Linked DNA regions of Homo sapiens: region 2 is linked to region 1. The links are contacts of gene promoters, found by promoter capture Hi-C in blood cells and fetal thymus (Javierre and others, 2016). All regions are on one chromosome and are shown on one strand. Each heading gives the region's core, a stretch centred on a gene start or on the middle of the fragment in contact. The rest is flanking DNA. Distances are from core to core; before and after follow the strand shown.

Region 1 (3,480 bases), core at 475-2,974:
GCAATCCTCACACCTCAGTCTCCTGAGTAGCTGGGAATACAGGCGTGTACCACCATGCTGGATAATTTTAAAAAAATTTTTTGTAGAGACAGGATCTCACTATGTTGCCAGGGGTGGTCTCAAATTCCTGAGCTCAAGTGACCCTCCTGCTTTGGCCTCCCAAAGTGCTAGGATTACAGGCGTAAGTCAAAGCACTCGGCCTAAATTTACATTATTGCTTTCAATCCACAAAACAATCCAATGAGTTTTTGCAATCTGAAATTCAGAGAGAGTAAATGTCATGCCCAAAGTTACCCAGCTAATATGTGGCAATTCCAGGACTTGAAAACAGGCTTTTCTAACCCTGGAGCTCACAGCCACTGTTCTCAGCTACAACAGTCTGTTTTGAAGAATTTCTGTTACTGGCCCACCTGAGCTGGTGAGCCAGGCCTGGTCTTACGTCTTTTGTTTTTTTACAGGGATGATGATTTTTACCCACAAACCCTTATATGGCTTCCTTTGTTGGTACTAAGGATAAAATACGCCCGGTCTGCTCACGGCAGACACCTATACTATGGTGACTTTCTACGCAAGCCATTTGTGAGGGGATGACAAGTCAATAATTTCTGCCTTCAAGAACTTTCAAACTAGTAGTGGAGATAAAATCAACACAGCAACAATTACAGTATAAGGTAAAATCTAAGGGCCATAAGAGACGAAAAGAAGTATGGGAGTTCAGAGGTAGGGCATAAATGAGGGGAGTAGGTGGCTAGAAAAGGTTAAAAGTAAATAATGATGTGAAGGAAGACAAAAAGACGACAGGGGTGCCAAACGACTCTTAACCTCATCTGAACGGAGTTGCCCTGTTTTGCTCTCTGATGCTCATGTATCTATCCTTAGAGACAGCTTGGCGGGCAATGTAGAGCGTAGGGGCTGACATAGGGGGTTGGAGTCCCACCTCCGTGACTTCTAGCAAATTAGCAAACTTTGCTGCTGCTAAGCCTATAAGGCGGACAGAAATGCCATCTTTAAAGCTTGTTATGTAAAGTGCCTAGGACCTCGTAGGCATCAACAGGAATAATGGATGAAACAAAACAACGGTGCGTATCTTGGAGAAAGTGGCATCTGAGCAGGAGTATTTTGAAAGGTAGGAAAGGGCTCCAAGCACATCTAAGAGATTAGGGAACGCAGAAGCCTTAGCCCTGGGTGCAGATTTAACCAATCAACTTCTAACCACCGCAGGCTGAGAGGTGTGGAGTGAGAGCCCCGCCAGAGGCAGGAGACCCGGGCTTCGGCCAGACCCCGCCTCCTGGCACAGAGGACCACGCCCGGCTCTGCCTGGAGCCAAATGTGGATCAAAACAGCGCGCAGCTTCCCACTGCTGGTGAAAACCCGAGCAAGGGGCCTCAGTTTCTTTATCCGGAACGTGGTGACAATGACATCTCTTTGCAAGGCTGCTGCAGGGCTTTCTGGAAATACGCCCGTGAGGTATCTGGGCCTGCGCACAGCCTCCCCCGCCCAGGACCCAGACGTCTACCTGGGGGTCCCGTCTGCGCTCCCGGGATGGAAAACGCCCAGGGGAAACTTAGGCAGGCGAGCGGACGGGCACCTCCCGCGGGACGAACTCACTCGGTGGCCTCCTACTTCCCCGGCCGTGTTCCAACGCCTGAGAATAACGGGAACAGCGGTCGTACTCACCGACAGCGGCAGCAGCGGTAGGCCCGGGCCCCACCATGACTCTTCAGTGACAGTTTTTCTTCAAACGCCGCGCCTGTAGCCAGGACCGGCGTGCCGCGCGTCCACGCGTCCTCATTGGCTCCTGCGGGTTTGAAACTCGCTAGTCGTCAGCACGGGAGGGCGGGACAACAGGCAATAGGCTCTTTGCGGTTGGCTCTGGCCTTGAGAACCCGACCTTGGGGCCCTTTGATTGGAAGAACGTGCAGCGCACCTCGGCATTGAGGGCGGCTTCCTCGGGGCGCGGCGCCGCCCGCCTCTGAGTGCGCCTGTGAGTGCGCCTCCGAGTGGGCGTGGGACCCTCCGTGGGGGCCTCAGCCGGGCTGGTGGTTGGGGGGCGGTTACGCTGAATCCAGCTGGGGTTGGCGCGCCGGGAGTCCCTGGGCGGAGAGACAGGGCGGTCCTCCCAGGATGCTGGGGCCGCTACCTGATTCTGTCCTTTCAAAGTCTCAGACTCACAGGAGCTGTGAAAAAATAATATTATAAAGAGGACATATGGGTCTTATGCATCTAAAGGCTCCTAGTTCTTAGTACTGCAGGGTGGCTCGTTTAATTGTGGTAAAATATGCATAACATCACATATACCATTTTAACCATTTTAAAGTGTTAAATTTTTCAAAAATGTGCAGTTTAGTGGTATTAAGTACCCTCACATTGTGGCACAGCCACCACTACTGTCCTTTCCAGAACTTTTTCATCTTCCCAAATGAAACCCTGTACCCGTCACTAACTCCGCACTCCTCCCTCCCCCAGCCCCAGGCAATCACCATTCTAGTTTCTGTCTCTATGGATTTGACAACTGTAGGTGCCATATAAGTAGAATCATGCAGTATTTGTTCTGTGACTGGCTTGTTTCACTTAGCATAAAGTATTCAAGGTTCATCCATGTGTAGCATGTGTCAGAATTTCCTTTCCTTTTAAGGGGGAATAGCATTTCGTTGTGTGGAGATGCCACATTTTGCTTCTTGGTCCATCCCTCTCCGGACACTTGAGTTGCTTCCACTTTTTGGCTATTGTGAATAATAATATGAACATGAATGCACAAATAACTCTTTGAGACTCTCCTTTTCATTCTTTTGGGTATATACCACGAAGTGGTATTGTTGGATCAAACGGCAATTCTATTTTTAATTTTTTGAGAAACTGCCTTACTCCTCTCACGGTGATCTCTTGTTCAAGGTATATTTTCGATTTCACCTGATCAGCTGACTATAAGGCCATAAGGCTAACGGAGAAACGCAGGCCTAGTTTCTCCTAGTTACTAGGAGATCGCAGGCCTCGTTGTCCTGAATCCCTAGACACACTTCATTCCCCTTGTTTTAATCCTAAATTTTTTTTCTTTTGAAGTTTGTCCTGTTTCATCTATTCTCCAGTTTCTTAAAGAGGTCTGGAAAATGCTTTTGGCTCCTTGTGTATGAAGGTTCCTCTTCCATGGATGCTGGAGAAGTCGTGTGTGGAGGGGCAGTCATATCTGGGCACCTGTTGGCCAGGTTCAGCTTACCAGTTGGGTACTCAGCAGGGCATGAAGCCACTGCAGCAGCCCTTCTCTTTAGCCGTAAATAGGGAGTTTGGAAGAGAGCCAGGGTTTCTGGATTTATGCATTTTGATATTTTCAATAGTGTATTAAATGTTTAAAATAGGAAAACTGATCATTATTTTTGTTAATGACTGAGAAAGGGACTCCTTCACCAACAGTTTCAGAAAAGTGAAGGCGGTTTTGTTTTGGTCTTTGTAGAATCTAGGTGGTTGAATGCATGTCAGTTGTAG
Region 2 (3,143 bases), core at 154-2,653, 2.1 Mb before region 1:
TTCTGTTTTAATAGCTGTTCTTCAAAAGCATTTGCTTCTTTCCTTTTCATATAATGTCTGTCTTCATTTACTTTAGGAAAGATAGAAATGGTTTGCATGCAAAATTTAAATCCAGGTCATCATAGGAATACATGCAAAATGAGGAAAGGGTTATATTTTAGGGGGCCGATTTTTTTATTAGTCTTTCTCATATTTGGTTTTAGAAGTGAAACTTGTATTACCTTTTAATTTTTACCTGCCCACAGCTTGGCTACTACATGTTTAGGACATGTAAATTACTAAAAAAAAAAAAAAACTACATGCTGATCAAAAATAATAATAATAGCACAGTATAATAGTAAAGATTTTTGTAGCCATCATATACATGACTGTTCTTGTAAACAATCATGATTGTGCAAATCATTTTAAAATAAATTTTTATTTGTTTTTATAAGATAAAAATTTCTAGAGACTTTCTAAGTAGAAGTGAACTGCACTAAATGATCAGGGCTTCAAGCATGCTGTGGTCAGTCCCATTTCCAACAACTGGTTAACAGAGTCATGCCACAGGCAAGTCAAAGAGTCTGGCTTAAAACTTCTGGTCACAGCATGTGAAAGAAAAACACATCTATGCCCAGCACAAAATGAGTCCTCTGTGTTAACTGACTTGTCTTCTCTGTTGTCAACCGAGTATGAAAAGTAATGAACAGAAAAGAAAGGCCCAGAATGGCTATAGCCCAAATAACTTAGATAGTATAAAAGTCCTGAGTGGAATAAAGGTTCAAATAACTGACCTAGAGGTTTAGAATTACTATATACAGATAATACTGAAAAATTTTTAAATATTTATTTCACTAAAGCTAAGATGACACTGGTATGGATATCTAATTTAGTACTCTTTCAACTATGAGTTTGCTGCCAAGACATCAATTTAGTCCTTGGACTAACTTGGCTGCTACACTAGTGGTTAAGCAATTTCCAATTCAGAAAAAAAAAGTGCAGCTTGCTGCCAGCGCAGTTTTCTCGGGGCAAACGCAAAATGGGTTAATAATGATTTCTGGGCTTCTGATAGGATGAGATGAAGACTTTCTTGCAGTCTTTCAACATAGTCAATTATTCTTTAAAAAAGTAATTACTCAGAGATGAGGATTTTTTTATGTGACATAAGAATAACTAAAAATACAAGATTGCAAGTACCCCATTGCTCATGCTTTCTCCGTTGATTGTATTTCTGGGCTCTCAATTCTTCAAAGGAAAATTCTGATTCCCCACGAATAAGCTTCTCCTTGCAATACATAACAACCTGCTCAACATCAACTTTGGATGCCAAAGATGAGTGCACAGAATATTCTGATTTAGAAATCGTGATCACTCTTCGTTCCCTACAATGGGGGAAAATACATTATTTACAACAATGTACCTAAGAGCACTTAAAGGAAACTAATAATAGATTAATGCACTGATTATACTTGCATATTTGACTCTTTATCACAAGCTGAAGATATCACTCCAGAAAGCTCTGAACCCTAAAAAACAGAAAACAAACATGAGCATTCACTTATCTGAGAAGAAAGCTTCACCCAAATTACTTCACAAAACAATATGAAAATGCTTGAGGGGAAGAGGGACCTTAATCCCAAGTAGATTTATGTAATTTTAAATTATGATTAATATCAAAAGATTGTTTGTATCAACAACCTTACAATAACTATTGTAACTTAATCTAATCAAAGAAAGAGGTTTTTTTGGTTGTTGTTTTGTTTTTAATAAAGTCCTACTCAGCAGTAGAGAAGAACCATAGCTGATTTCCCTTCAATTCATAGTCTAGTAGCTAGAGTATAGTGTCTGAACATTATGGGATTGACATTCCCAACTGCTGCTAATTTTTTTTTTAATTAAAATTTTCCTCAGGTACTACTCTGCCCTCAAGAGTTCTCAAATTCCTTCACTAAACAAATATTTGCCAGACACCTCCATGTCACACTCTGAGCTAGGTCTGGGAAATGTGACTGCAATCAAGACCCATCTCTACTGTCTGGAGCTTAGACAGGACAATAGGTGGTCAGGAGGGTGGCAAGCATGTGTAGGACGTAAAATGTAAATTGGGACAAGCTGCACTACCTGTCAAAGTCAGGAGCGCATATTCTACTTCTAAGAATGTATTACATTAATGAAACCTGTACATACACCCTAAGCACACAGGCGTTTCCATTGGCTTTTGCTTCAAGGAGGTCCTTGATGAACTTTGAAAGAAAGTTGTACTGTGGAGGGTAACATGGGAAACATAGTTGGGAAACATGAGGCTGAGGGAAGAAGAGAGACTTGAGCATTTTCCCATGTTGATACACCATGGAGGCAGAAGAGATCTCCACAGGGCAAAAACCTTGATGAGGATAAGGACAAGCACAGATAGAAGGCCACCTTTTCTCACAGGGAAGGATGCAGTTACATTTATTGGTTGGTGGCAGAAAACTGATAGATGTCACTTGATGGCATCTGCTATCTGTTGAAATAGTATTTTTGAAGTTCCTGAGAGAGAGGCTAGAGGTAGCGAGGTCCCAAGTTTGAAGAGACTGAAAAGAAGTCTAAAATCACTATAGTTTGGCGCTAGAGTGAACCTGGAAACATAAGAGATACACAAAACATAAAGAGTGAATCAGACACTGGAAGCATGTCCCATTGCCTGGGAGTATGACCCATTGCCTGGGAGTATGAGACCTCCCTGTTACTTGAGGTAACAGGCAGCAATCTTTGAGGCTCTGAGTTTTGAAAGCCAGGCTCAGAAGCCCCCAGGTGGATCCATTCCCAGTAGGGATTTCCAGAGCCTATGCAGAGGCCAGCAGAACAGAGGAAAGGACATTGGTAAGGGAAAAGCTGGTGGGGAGAGTAAAGACAGGAGGCCGTGTGGTGAGGGCCTCTGGGTTAGACAACAAATTGTATTTGAGGTGAGCTGTGTGGGAGAATAACAGGCCCAGGAAGTTGCCACAGGAGCAGGTGGCTGACATGGAGCTCAGAGCCATGAAGAGAAAGATCAAAGAAATGAGATGTCAAAGTGGATGTAGAAGGCAGCCAGGCTGGCCATTCAATACCATTCCCAGTTTCCACACAAGCTACAAATGTCATTATTACCTGATTCTTAGAAATGCAGGCCATGTTATTTCCTG

What was found. The method cuts DNA at HindIII sites, captures the fragments that hold promoters and counts their contacts. A CHiCAGO score of 5 or more calls a contact.
Region 2: a fragment that was not itself captured here is called in contact with the fragment with the promoter of CKAP2L in region 1 in 1 of 17 cell types (fetal thymus); the score reaches 5.4 in fetal thymus.

The regions. Positions count from the first base shown.
Region 1 is chr2:112,762,885-112,766,364 of GRCh38, forward strand. CKAP2L (cytoskeleton associated protein 2 like) reads right to left here and starts at 1,725. Exons shown (of 9, transcript NM_152515.5): 1 at 1,678-1,725. The coding sequence starts at 1,714. RefSeq lists an enhancer at 1,355-1,494 and a silencer at 1,945-2,104. The HindIII fragment of the contact is 4,243 bases long and covers 1,012-3,480 here.
Region 2 is chr2:110,666,345-110,669,487 of GRCh38, forward strand. It overlaps BUB1 (BUB1 mitotic checkpoint serine/threonine kinase), which reads right to left. Exons shown (of 25, transcript NM_004336.5): 6 at 3,109-3,143; 7 at 1,453-1,505; 8 at 1,177-1,361; 9 at 1-70. Among named protein-coding and RNA genes, the nearest start is that of SNORD132, 9.7 kb to the left of the region's middle. The HindIII fragment of the contact is 295 bases long and covers 1,257-1,551 here.